2 separate regions of the Homo sapiens genome follow, and region 2 is linked to region 1. Evidence: promoter capture Hi-C in human tissues and cell types (Jung and others, 2019). All regions are on one chromosome and are shown on one strand. Each heading gives the region's core, a stretch centred on a gene start or on the middle of the fragment in contact. The rest is flanking DNA. Distances are from core to core; before and after follow the strand shown.

Region 1 (5,703 bases), core at 2,196-4,695:
CCCTGTCAGTTCTCAATTATACTGTTATCTTAGAGGGGGAAAAATGTGAAATTTGAATGTAGACGAGTGTTGATTTGACTGCTACAGTTTATTTTACGTATAGAAATAAAATAATGTGTAGCAAAAGCATTATTACAAAGATGATAATGAAATAACTAGTATTTATAATAGTATAATAGTATAGTATTTATAATAGTATGATAGTTTAATGACTATTTGTCAGATGTTGTGTAAGAAACTTTATACACACACACACACACACCTCATTTAATTCCTGTATCAATCAGGATACAGGACGCTGTGGTAACAACTCCTCAAATCTCGGTGGCTTGCACAACAAATGCTTATTTCTTTTTTTTTTTTGACACCAAGTCTTGCTCTGTAACAGGCTGGAGTGCAATGGTGCAATCTCGGCTCACTGCAGCCTCTGCCTCCTGGGTTCAAGCGATTCTCCTGCCTCAGTCTCTCGAGTAGCTGGGAACACAGGCACGCGCCACCACATCTGGCTAATTTTTGTGATTTTAGTAGAGATGGGATTTCACCATGTTGCTCAGGCTGGCCTTGAACTCCTGACCTCAAGCGATCCACCCACCTCAGCCTCCCAAAGTGCTGGGATTACAGGCATGAGCCACTGCGCCCAGCCCCAAATGTTTATTTCTTGCTCATGTGACATGTACTTCCTCGAGTTTTTCCTTCCTGAGATCTAAGCTGAAGGAACAGCTCTCTGGAGCCACGCCATTCTGGTGGCGGAAAGGAAGAGTAAAAGTGGTAGAACCTTGCAATGCTCTTGAAGCGCCTATTTGGAATGTCTACATCATGTAAATGGTAATGGACAAGTATGTATAATCCCCACACCAAAAAAAGGGGACACTATTGGGGACAATAACCACATTTCAATGCTGCAAGACGGATATTGACTGCACCCCCTTCCCACTTTCAGAAAGAAGAAGAGTAATTTTGCTGAACTCCTTCTAGAGACTGGAAATGTCCCTTCCAGTTGGGGTGATTAGGGAAGGCTTTGGTAAAATTTGAGCTAGAGTTTGAAGGTTAGGTAGACTACTGGTGGGTGAAGAAAGAACAAGGACCTTTGTAGGCAAAGGAAAACCTCAGAATTACAGAGGTGGAAAAAGAGTTCTAGTCAAGCCACTTCAGCTGGCTACAGAGTAGGTGGGAAAGAAAATGGGAGGACAAGGGCTCAGATGATGGGGGGTTGGGGCATTGGGGGGACACTTGAAAGCTAAACTAAGGGGTTGAACTTAATTTAGGAGGCAGTTAGAAGCTTTTACATATTTTTGAGCAAGAGAGTGACATAATTAAAATGATCTGGGCCAGGTGTGGTGGCTCACACCTGTAATCCCAGCACTTTGGGAGGCTGAGGAGCTTGGGTCACCTGAGGTCAGGAGATCGAGACCAGCCTGGCCAACATGGTGAAATCCCGTCCTACTAAAAATACAAAAATTAGCCGGGAGTGGTGGCATATGCCTGTAATCCCAGTAGCTGGGAGGCTGAGACAGGAAAATCGCTTGAACCCGGGAAACAGGTTGCAGTGAGCCGAGATCGTGCCACTGCACTCCAGCCTGGGCAACAGAGCGAGACTCCATCTCAAAAAAACAAAACAAACACACACAAAAAACCAAAAATAAATAAATAAAATGATCACTTCTGAATACTGATCTAACTAGGGGTTGCAGGGTGGGCTGATATAGGGAGAAACTGGAGAGCAAGGAGATCACTAAGGTCCCTACATGTCCAGAACCAAGATAGAGGTCTTGAACTAGGATGGTGGCAGTTAGAACAACAACAACAAAAAGTCAATTCCAGGCTGAGTGCAGTGGCTCATGCCTGTAATCCCAACGCTTTGGGAGGCTGAGGTGGGAGTTAGAAAGCAGCCTGGGCAACACTGCAAGACCTCCTCTCTAAAAAAAAAAAAAAAAAAAAGTTAGCCAGGTGTGGTGGTGCCCACCTGTAGTCCCAGCAACTCAGAAGGCTGAGGTGGGAAGATTGCTTGAGCCCCAGGAGTTCAAGCTTGCCGTGAGCTACGATTGTGCCACTGCACTCCAGCCTGAGCAAGACCTTGTCTCCAAAAAAAGGTCAATTCCACTGACTTTTCTAAGGTGTACACCATCAAGGGGCAGCTCCATCTCCAGGCCATTGGCTCATGAGACATTCTGTAGTCAGAAGGCTAGGGCAGATTGCTTTGAGCAAGCCCCCATGGTGGTTCTCACTCCTACTTCTTTGGGTATATGCCCCTCTGTTTAAAAATAAAGTTAATATGCATTTAAAAAAAAAAAGGAGAAAAAGGTCAGTTCCAGAAACTGTGTGAATAAAGCATTTTACTTGCTTTTTCTATTAATCTATAACATATGTTGATTTTTTAAAAAGAATATAAGAGCTATGCAAATTGGAGCTTCAAGACAACTTCCCATCTCCCTAGGAGGAGATGGCTGCCCTAAACCCCCCTACATAGAAATCATCCCACTGCTTGGGCTTAAACTTGATGTTGGGGAAATGAAAAATCCAAGCTAAGGCCGAAGCCTGGGGCCTGGGCGACCAGCAGAATGAGGACCACTGGTCAGTTTCAGGCTGAGGTGCGTCTTCCAGGGGACAATCTCTAGCTGGCCCTTAAACATTCAGACTTCAAGCTCTATTTACAGCATAAAGGTGTTTCAAAAGACGTGATACAAATAACTGCAAATGCTCTGCGATGTGTTAAGCACTGTTTGAAATTCGTCTAATTTAAGATTTTTTTTTCTGACGTAACGGTTAGATTCACGTTTCTTTTTTTTTAAGTACAGTTCTACTGTATTGTAACTGAGTTAGCTTGCTTTAAGCCGATTTGTTAAGGAAAGGATTCACCTTGGTCAGTAACAAAAAAGGTGGGAAAAAAGCAAGGAGAAAGGAAGCAGCCTGGGGGAAAGAGACCTTAGCCAGGGGGGCGGTTTCGGGACTACGAAGGGTCGGGGCGGACGGACTCGAGGGCCGGCCACGTGGAAGGCCGCTCAGGACTTCTGTAGGAGAGGACACCGCCCCAGGCTGACTGAAAGTAAAGGGCAGCGGACCCAGCGGCGGAGCCACTGGCCTTGCCCCGACCCCGCATGGCCCGAAGGAGGACACCCACCCCCGCAACGACACAAAGACTCCAACTACAGGAGGTGGAGAAAGCGCGTGCGCCACGGAACGCGCGTGCGCGCTGCGGTCAGCGCCGCGGCCTGAGGCGTAGCGGGAGGGGGACCGCGAAAGGGCAGCGCCGAGAGGAACGAGCCGGGAGACGCCGGACGGCCGAGCGGCAGGGCGCTCGCGCGCGCCCACTAGTGGCCGGAGGAGAAGGCTCCCGCGGAGGCCGCGCTGCCCGCCCCCTCCCCTGGGGAGGCTCGCGTTCCCGCTGCTCGCGCCTGCGCCGCCCGCCGGCCTCAGGAACGCGCCCTCTTCGCCGGCGCGCGCCCTCGCAGTCACCGCCACCCACCAGCTCCGGCACCAACAGCAGCGCCGCTGCCACCGCCCACCTTCTGCCGCCGCCACCACAGCCACCTTCTCCTCCTCCGCTGTCCTCTCCCGTCCTCGCCTCTGTCGACTATCAGGTAAGCGCCGCGGCTCCGAAATCTGCCTCGCCGTCCGCCTCTGTGCACCCCTGCGCCGCCGCCCCTCGCCCTCCCTCTCCGCAGACTGGGGCTTCGTGCGCCGGGCATCGGTCGGGGCCACCGCAGGGCCCCTCCCTGCCTCCCCTGCTCGGGGGCTGGGGCCAGGGCGGCCTGGAAAGGGACCTGAGCAAGGGATGCACGCACGCGTGAGTGCGCGCGTGTGTGTGTGCTGGAGGGTCTTCACCACCAGATTCGCGCAGACCCCAGGTGGAGGCTGTGCCGGCAGGGTGGGGCGCGGCGGCGGTGACTTGGGGGAGGGGGCTGCCCTTCACTCTCGACTGCAGCCTTTTGCCGCAATGGGCGTGTGTGTGTGTGTGTGTGTGTGTGTGTGTGTGTGTGTGTGTGGAGGGGTCCGATAACGACCCCCGAAACCGAATCTGAAATCCGCTGTCCCTGCCGCTGTTCGCCATCAGCTCTAAGAAAGACGTGGATCGGGTTCTAGAAAAGATGACTCCCTGCACGCCCCTCCCTGCACCTCCCGAGCAGTGATTCCGACAGGGCCTTCACTGCCCCTGATTTTAGGCGGGGGCCGGCCCCCTCCCCTTTTCCTCCTTCAGAAACCCGTAGGGGACATTTGGGGGCTGGGAGAAATCGAGGAGATGGGGAGGGGTCCACGCGCTGTCACTTTAGTTGCCCTTCCCCCTGCGCACGCCTGGCACAGAGACGCGAGCAGCGCCGTGCCTGAGAACAGTGCGCGGATCCCACTGTGCACGCTCGCAAAGGCAGGGTTCACCTGGCCTGGCGATGTGGACGGACTCGGCGGCCGCTGGTCCCCGTTCGCGGGCACGCACAGCCGCAGCCACGCACGGATGGGCGCGGGGCTGCAGGTGCATCTCGGGGCGGATTTCTTTCTCAGCGCTCGGAGCGCAGGGCGCCCGGCGTGTGCGCTCCCTGCCGGAGGCGCGGGGCTGGCGCGCAGGGCTCGCCCCTCACTGCGGCAGTGGGTGTGGACCCTGGTGGGCGAGGAAGGGGGAGGATAGGCTGTGCCTCCTCCCACTCCCGCCCCCAGCCCCCCTTTTTTTCCCCCTCGGAACGCGAGGTGCCATCTTTTTTCGGCGTGTCACGTCTTTACGGTGCCATGCCAAACCGGGTGGCCGGGCTTCATAGGACAGGGCGGGGCCTGGCATTAAAGGGAGGGGGACAATCAGCGCTGAAATCTTGGCGTTTTGCTGCTGCGGGCGTGAGCACTGGGGGCGTTCGCCCAGCACCTTCTTCGGGGGCTCTTTGCTTTGTCTGTAGAGGTTACGTGATCTGCGCTCCCAGCCCTGGTTTCTGGCTTTTATTCTGAGGGTGTTCAGTCAACCTCCCCCCTACGCCCATGCGCCTCTCTTTCCTTTTTCGCTCCTCATTTCCGAGCCCATTGTTGGATCTCGAGGCTTGCTGGGTTCGATGAACTCGAGTCAACCCCCCGACCCCCGGCACGCATGGAACGGGCGTGACCGCGCGCAGCCTCGTCTCGGAGTCTGCCGGCGCCGGGAAGCTTCTGAAGGGATGGGATTCGAGTCTCCGTGCGCGCTGCGGGCGGCGGCAGAGGGATCTCGCCCCTCCCTACACCCCAAGTGTCCTGAGGGCCACGCCACACCAGGTTGCCCAGCGAGGGACGCTGGCTACCCATCCGGGGATGGGTGGGGAGCCCTGGCGGGGCCTCTCCGGCTTTACGCCCTGTTGCTTCGCCTGGCCGGAGAATGTGAGGAAGGGGCATAAGGTTACTGGTGCTTCGGCCACACCCATCTTTCTGAGCCCACTGGACTGGGCGCAGAGGGGGGATTGCCATGGAAACCACAGGTGTCCGGAGAGGGGATCTTGGGGCTGGCCTCACCCCTTCCCTGCGGAGATTGGGGACCCTGGGGTAGGGGGAGCCGCGCCCAGTCGGCCTCCTGGAGGACACGGGAGGAAGCCCCGAACCCCCGCGCCTGAGGCTGTTTCTGATTGGCCCCTGGAGGCCGCAGACACGCAGATAGGCGGCCCTGGGTGTATTTTTATTAATATTATGTCCGTACTGATTAATATTATTTATCTTAAATAAATTTCACCCGTGTCCAAGTTCACCGCGCCCCCAAAACCG
Region 2 (6,313 bases), core at 544-3,043, 580 kb before region 1:
ATGGGGCAAACAGGAAGCATCAGACACAACTGTGGTAGTGACTTATTAATCACGAAAGCAGAATTTTAGTTGCATTTTAACCTTTTGCCAGGAAAAAAAAAAAAACAACCTTGAGATGATGGAAGCCATTAGTAGAAGTACGCTGCCTTTATGCGTATTGGGCTGACTTAGACTTTTTACTTAGGACTGACTTTGCTTTTAAGATTTCTGAACTTTCCCCCCAGAAAGAACATCTGTCAAACCAACCAATATGAATCTGTCAGCTCTTCATCGAGGCAGGCAGGCTTGTTAGGAAAGCCCATGTGCTGTCCATTGAGACAGGAAAAAAAATAGGAAGTTAAAAGTGCCTTCACAGGCCAAAGTGATACAACACTGTTCAGAGGGTGCCAACAACGAAGAAAACAACCCTGGATAAAGCTTTCATCTCTTTCACATCTCCGCAGATCTCTCACCAGACCCTAGCCAGGGATGAACTGTTATCAATCACCAAAAAAAAAAAAAAAATCACAACAGTTGCCGAGGGCTGGACAACCAATCAGCGCAAGCCATCTTCTCAGCAGTAAATGATATACACATATTCCAGGCAGATCACAAAGGAGTCAGTGTTCAACAGGAGAACCAAAATGAGGAACCAAACCTTCATCTGTTGAGGCGAAACAGCCCAACCAGACATTTTTGTTTAATAGAGGGAGACTGATTTGGCAGGGTCTCTGTGGTGCCGCTCCCACAAACTCTTAACAGACAATACCAATGACAAAAAACCCCCTTCAGAACTGCTTCTTATAATCAGAAAACACTCAGAAGATGGCCTGAAGCTTGGCAGCGTCTTGCTGTCTGATTTCACAAAGAGCTGGTACACATACCTGGGTACTTATCTCTAAAATTAGAGTCAGAGACGATTACTTTTATTTTGAGATCTTCTGAGAAGTTCTCCACACCCTTCAAAATAAATAAGGATGTCCGAAAGGTGTCTGAAAAATTCAGAGGTCTGGCATCGCTCCAAAGAAACTGATTGATATCACTTAAAAAACACCAAGAGTAAATCCAAACACAACCAAAGTAAGGCAAGCACTTTTTAAGTGTCCTCTCACATTAAGAGCATAAAAACCACACCAAAAACTTCTCCCTCCTTTCTGCATCTCAGTTCTATAATGTGGTCCTGATCTAGGATTCTGGGAAAGACCCATCCTTAGTCCCAGCTATGAGGCATCAGGCAAGATATATACCACCCCCACTCCCTCATACACACCTGCCTCAGGTGCCTCGCCCATAAAACAAGACACTACAATCTGTCTTACCACACAGCCATCTGAAGGAAAACGGAGCTCACAGGTATGAAGACACTAAGCAAAAAACACATCACTAATGTTAAGATACTGTCTCCTTCTAATCTTTCAGAAAGACCATGTTTCTAGTCAAGGGGTTTCCAACATTTTTCTTGGAATAAACTCCAGACTCCTATTTTATATCATGACCTCACTCTAATCATTTAATTTCATGTGCTTTTAAAGTCCTTAATTAAGTCATTGGTGTTCATTGTCTCCAGCGATCAAAAGTAGTTTTACCATTTACTTTGCTGATGTATGTACCTTTTCACCACTTATCCTCTCCCTCATTCATACCTCCAGTCCACCCTTTAGGGCCGAGAGCAACTTTTTAACCTCGACTAGGAAGGAAACACTTTTTCTGAAGCTACCCAGCACTAAGGAGGCTCCCGGGCAGGTGGGAAACGTACGTACAAGTGGCCCCTCTCTGCCTGGTGCCCAGTGGCTGCAAGATGCCAGGGCCACGATGGGTTTCCAAGATGGGAATGTTATATTTGAACCGACAGATAAAGTCCCGAGTTGGAGAGCCCAGAAGAATTACAGAGGAGGACTGGGGTCCGAGGGCGGAGGGAGGATGCTGCGGGCGGCCAGCACTGCCCCGCTGCATGCTGAGGACAGGCTTAGCTCCTGCTCCCCGCCTTGAGGTGTGACCTGAGAACTTCCCATGAAAGGCCGGGAGGGTTTCACGCCAGGGCAGATGCCAGGGCGCACTCCTGCAGGAGACACGTCCGCCCCGCGGCAGGCGAGCTCCATCCTGGGGGCACTGGGGCGCAGAGCAGGCGGGCGGGCCTGGCGGCGGCGCGGGGCACTAGTGAAGGGGAAGCAGGCGGCCCCTGCGCGCGCTCGGAGCCAGCGTGTGGCCAGCAGGAGTGCGCGGCCTGGAGGCCCGGGGCGAGCGCGGCACCGGCAGCGCGTGCGAGGGCGCGCCCGCGGACCGCTGCGAGTGGGTTGGACGGGGTACGTCGGACTGCGCTGGCCTGGCCGCCGACCCCACTGCTCCGGGGCGAGGGGCCAGGCCGCAGCCCAGCCCGGGGCTGAGAGGCGATCCATCCCAGCCGCTCCCTGGTCGCCTCGCACCGGGCCCCAGGGTCCCGCCCCGTCACCTACCGGCCAAGCGCCGATCTCCCCAACCAAGCGAGTGTTGCGCTCCGCTCGCCCGCGATCTCCCGCCGCCGGCCGCCGACCGCTGAGCTCCCGGCCCGTGGTCGCCCCGCCCCGGTCCCGGGCTCCGCCCCCTCGCCTTCTCGGCCGCCCCCGGGGCCACGCCTCCCCCGGAGGCTGTAACTTTGCCTCGCTTCGCGCCTCCTTTCTTTGGCCGCACCGCGACCCGTGGCCCCGCCCACTCCCCTACGCCAACCAATGAGACGGTCGTCCCGGCAAGCCCGTCTTCCCGCTCCCTAGCAACGATTGGTTAACGAGGCCTGGTTTCCAGAAATGGGCACTATTTCCGGACGATGTTTGTAGAAGGGAGATCGCTGGGCGGGCGGACTGACAGAAGGCGGAGGCGACTAGGGTGTTGGTGGAACCACACATGCGCCCTCGGCTTCTGGCAGTCTTACCAGCTGCGTTCTCGAGGTTACGGGAAGGAAGGGCGAGTGTGCGCATGCGTGGGCACTCCCTGCCACTGACTTCGGTTACCTTGGAGACAGCGAGGCGCTCTCCCTCGTGGGTCGCGCGCGTTCCGCTTCCTCTCTGCTGCCAAGCGGTGGCGGCTGAGGCGGGAGGTGGTGGGGGTAGAGACGTTTTTATTGAGCTCTTACCGTGTGCCTGGTCCTGTAGAATCCCTGGAATGAGTAAAGAAGGTTACAGTGCCTGCCCTCGAGAAGCTTGGGGAGCCAAGGGCTTACAGGGGCCCGACCTGTGGGTTGAAACCCAGGTACAAAGAGAGCATGTGGGTGCGTGGCGTGGTACGAGCGCTGAGCAAAGCATCTGCTCTCTGGGTTTGCAGACCACAGAGCCAGCAAGAGGATGAGAGCTTGATGTATGCAAAGAAAGGACCTGGAGTTCAGAATATGCATTGAAGTGTCAACAGTGCTTCTTTCTGAATGGGGGTCGGGGGTGGGGAGTAGGGAAGGTATAGAAACTTTTTCTAACTTTTGCCCCTCTGTATTATCTAGTGTTTCCACACTGAGCTTGTATTTTATTTGTAATAAATTCCAGGCCAGGCACGGTGGCTCACTCCTGTAATCCCAGCGCTTTTGGGAGGCAAAGGCAGGAGGATCGCTTGAGGCCAGGAGTTGGAGAACATCCTGGGCAATATAGCAAGGACCTCGTCCTTGCAAAAAAATAAAAGAATAGCCAGGCGTGGTAGTTTGCACTTGCAGTCCCAGCTAGAGGGGAGGCTGAGAGTCTGAGGTTACAGTGAGCCATGATCGTGCCACTGCACTCCAGCCTGGGTAACAGAGTGAGGCAGTCCTTTAAAAAAAAAATCCAAACTTTTTTTTTTATTGCAAAATAAAAGATGTACTCCTACCCTGGGCATCCCACTTCCATGAAGGGTCCATGGTAGGTGTGGTGAGTGGCTCTAGTCCGGGGATAGGCAGGCCCCACCCAAGGCTGTCTTGAAAAGTAAGGAACACCCCATCTCTGGAAGTGTTTGAGCAAAGACCACCATCTGCTTGAGACTACTTTGCAGACAGTCCGAAGCTGAACTCTTCTTTCTGGATATCTGTGCCAAACAGTCATCTCTGCTGGGGAATAGGGAAGACCATTTATTTAGGCAGTGGTCAAAAACTCACAACCTGAGGGCCTCATTCACTCACCCAGGCCAGAAATATGCTTTGTTTGGCTGGCCCAATATTTTTTTAAATTTGAATTTGAATGCCTTAGAGCAGAGCCTGCGGTTCCTTACAGTTCCCGCCACCCAACCATCTAACCTTATGTCACCTGTCTGGCCCCTGGAGCATTTGAGGTTGTGGCTCCCGTAGAGTCCGTGCTTTAGAGCCAAACAGTCTCTGGCGCCCACCCTGGCTCTGCCACTGACTAGCTGGGAGATGGCAGACAAGAAAGAAGCTGGACTGGTGGCCCCCAAATCTCTTTCCACCCCTAGGGTTTTGCATTTCAGTGACTCAGGGAAAGGCAGAGCTTGGCCAGATGTACAGGTTGGTATCGGCAATCTTGGATGCCCTTATTGCCTCTCCCACCACCTGTTTGCCTCTGGGCACACCACTTCTCAGGAAAGATGTGGGCACACCTCCAGAGTCTGCAGACACTCCCTGGCTTGCCTTTGCCTTCTCTCTCTTTCACTATTCCTTCTTTAAAACACCCAGTGTCTCTGTACTTTGCCCAGGTTCCCTTGACACCTCTGGTCCTGGGTCCCCTGTACACTCCCACCTACCCCATCAAGATGATCTGTCTTTAAGTCCGTCCCTGAACATTAATGTGTATTAATCAGAGACAGTGAACTGTGTTGACTCAAAACTGTAACTCTGGAGAAGGAATGTCACATCAGGTTGCAGGGGAGGAGCAAACCACTAAACACTGGTAAGGAAGATATTCGGGATAAGCAAGGCCTCTCCGTTTCAGCTACTTTTCTGAGGTCTTTCCAAGCCCCACTGTGTGTGGGTGAGGTGAGAAACAATACACCTACCCAGAGTGAGCAGTGTGGTGTCTCTGAGTCTTGAAATGCTTGCACCCTCTGGAAGGAGAGCTTCGGGACGAGATTACTTCCTCCAAGCTTAAGTCAAGACAACCTGGGAAAGCTTCTGGCCTTGAGTCACTTGTGCAGCCTCAGCTCTGCTTTAAATACAAGAAATTGACATTTACAGGATGACTCACACCTGGAGCAGTGAACTAGGTTCTCAGTACTCAAGGGTTCTCACACCCCATCCATTTCAGGTCTGGAAATAGCGTTAAGACTGTGCTATTCCGAAAGAATCGCAGCTTGTTTTCTGATACTTTACAAAAAGTAAGCCAGATAGACTTAGAGTACTTCATGTGCATAACCTCACTGAATGTTCCCTCTAGGCCAGGGTTTCTCAGCCTGGCACTATAGACATTTGGGGTTGGATAATTCATTGTTGGGGGACGGGGCTTGTATTCGCCTGTTTTCACGCTGCTGATAAAGACATAGCTGAGATGGGGTAATTTATAAAGGAAAGAGGTGTAATGGAGTCACAGTTCCATGTGGCTGGGGAGGCCTCACAATCATGGCAGAAGGCAAAAGGCATGTCTTACATGACAGCAGACAAGAGAGAATGATGAGAGCCAAGTGAAGGGGAAACCCTTACAAAAACATCAGATTTCATGAGACTTACGCACTACCATGAGAACAGTATGGGAGAAACTGCTCCAGTGATTCAATTATCTCCCACTGGGTCCCTTGCACAACACGGAATTGTGGGAGCTACAAGATGAGATTTTTTTTTTTTTTTTTTTTTTTTGAGATGGAGTCTCCCTGTGTCACCCAGGCTGGAGTGCAGTGGCGCGACCTCAGCTCACTGCATCCTCCTCCTCTTGGGTTCAAGTGATTCTCGTGCCTCAGCCTCCTGAGTAGCTGGGACTATAGGTGTGCACCACCATGCCCGGCTAATTTTTATATTTTTAGTAGAGATGGGGTTTTGCTACGTCAGCCAGGCAGGTCTTGAACTCAAGTGATCCACCCACCTCAACCTCCCAAAGTGCTGGAATTATAGGCATGAGCCACTGCGCCTGGCCTCAATGTGAGATTTGGGTGGGGCCACAGCCAAACCACATCAGGGCTGTCTTGTGCATTGCAGGATGTTTAAAAGCTTTCCTGGCCTCTGTCTACTACATACCTATAGCACTCCCTCATCCACCCAATGTGACAATAAATGTCTCTGGACATTGCTAGATGTCACCAAGGAAGCAAAATTGCCCCCGGTTGAAAACCCCTACAGTCTGACCCCATTGAATAGGTAGTATTACTGTCCCCATTTCACTGATGAGCAAACTGAAGCTCAGACAGAAGTAACTTTCCCAGTGTCACTTTGCTGTAACAGGAGACCCAGGATTCAAACCATGTCTGA

Evidence for each region. Contacts are between HindIII fragments. The study calls those that stand out against the background at their distance.
Region 2: a fragment that was not itself captured here is called in contact with the fragment with the promoter of MAPT in region 1 in 1 of the 25 tissues and cell types used here (aorta).

The regions. Positions count from the first base shown.
Region 1 is chr17:45,891,109-45,896,811 of GRCh38, forward strand. It overlaps MAPT (microtubule associated protein tau), which reads left to right and starts at 3,446. Exons shown (of 13, transcript NM_001377265.1): 1 at 3,446-3,578. It overlaps MAPT-AS1 (MAPT antisense RNA 1), which reads right to left and starts at 4,405. Exons shown (of 2, transcript NR_024559.1): 1 at 4,372-4,405. MAPT-IT1 (MAPT intronic transcript 1) reads left to right here and starts at 4,675. Exons shown (of 1, transcript NR_024560.1): 1 at 4,675-5,703. RefSeq lists enhancers at 3,389-4,274, 4,275-5,160. The HindIII fragment of the contact is 9,010 bases long and covers 1,653-5,703 here.
Region 2 is chr17:45,314,528-45,320,840 of GRCh38, forward strand. MAP3K14 (mitogen-activated protein kinase kinase kinase 14) reads right to left here and starts at 2,493. Exons shown (of 16, transcript NM_003954.5): 1 at 2,433-2,493. The HindIII fragment of the contact is 4,566 bases long and covers 1-4,076 here.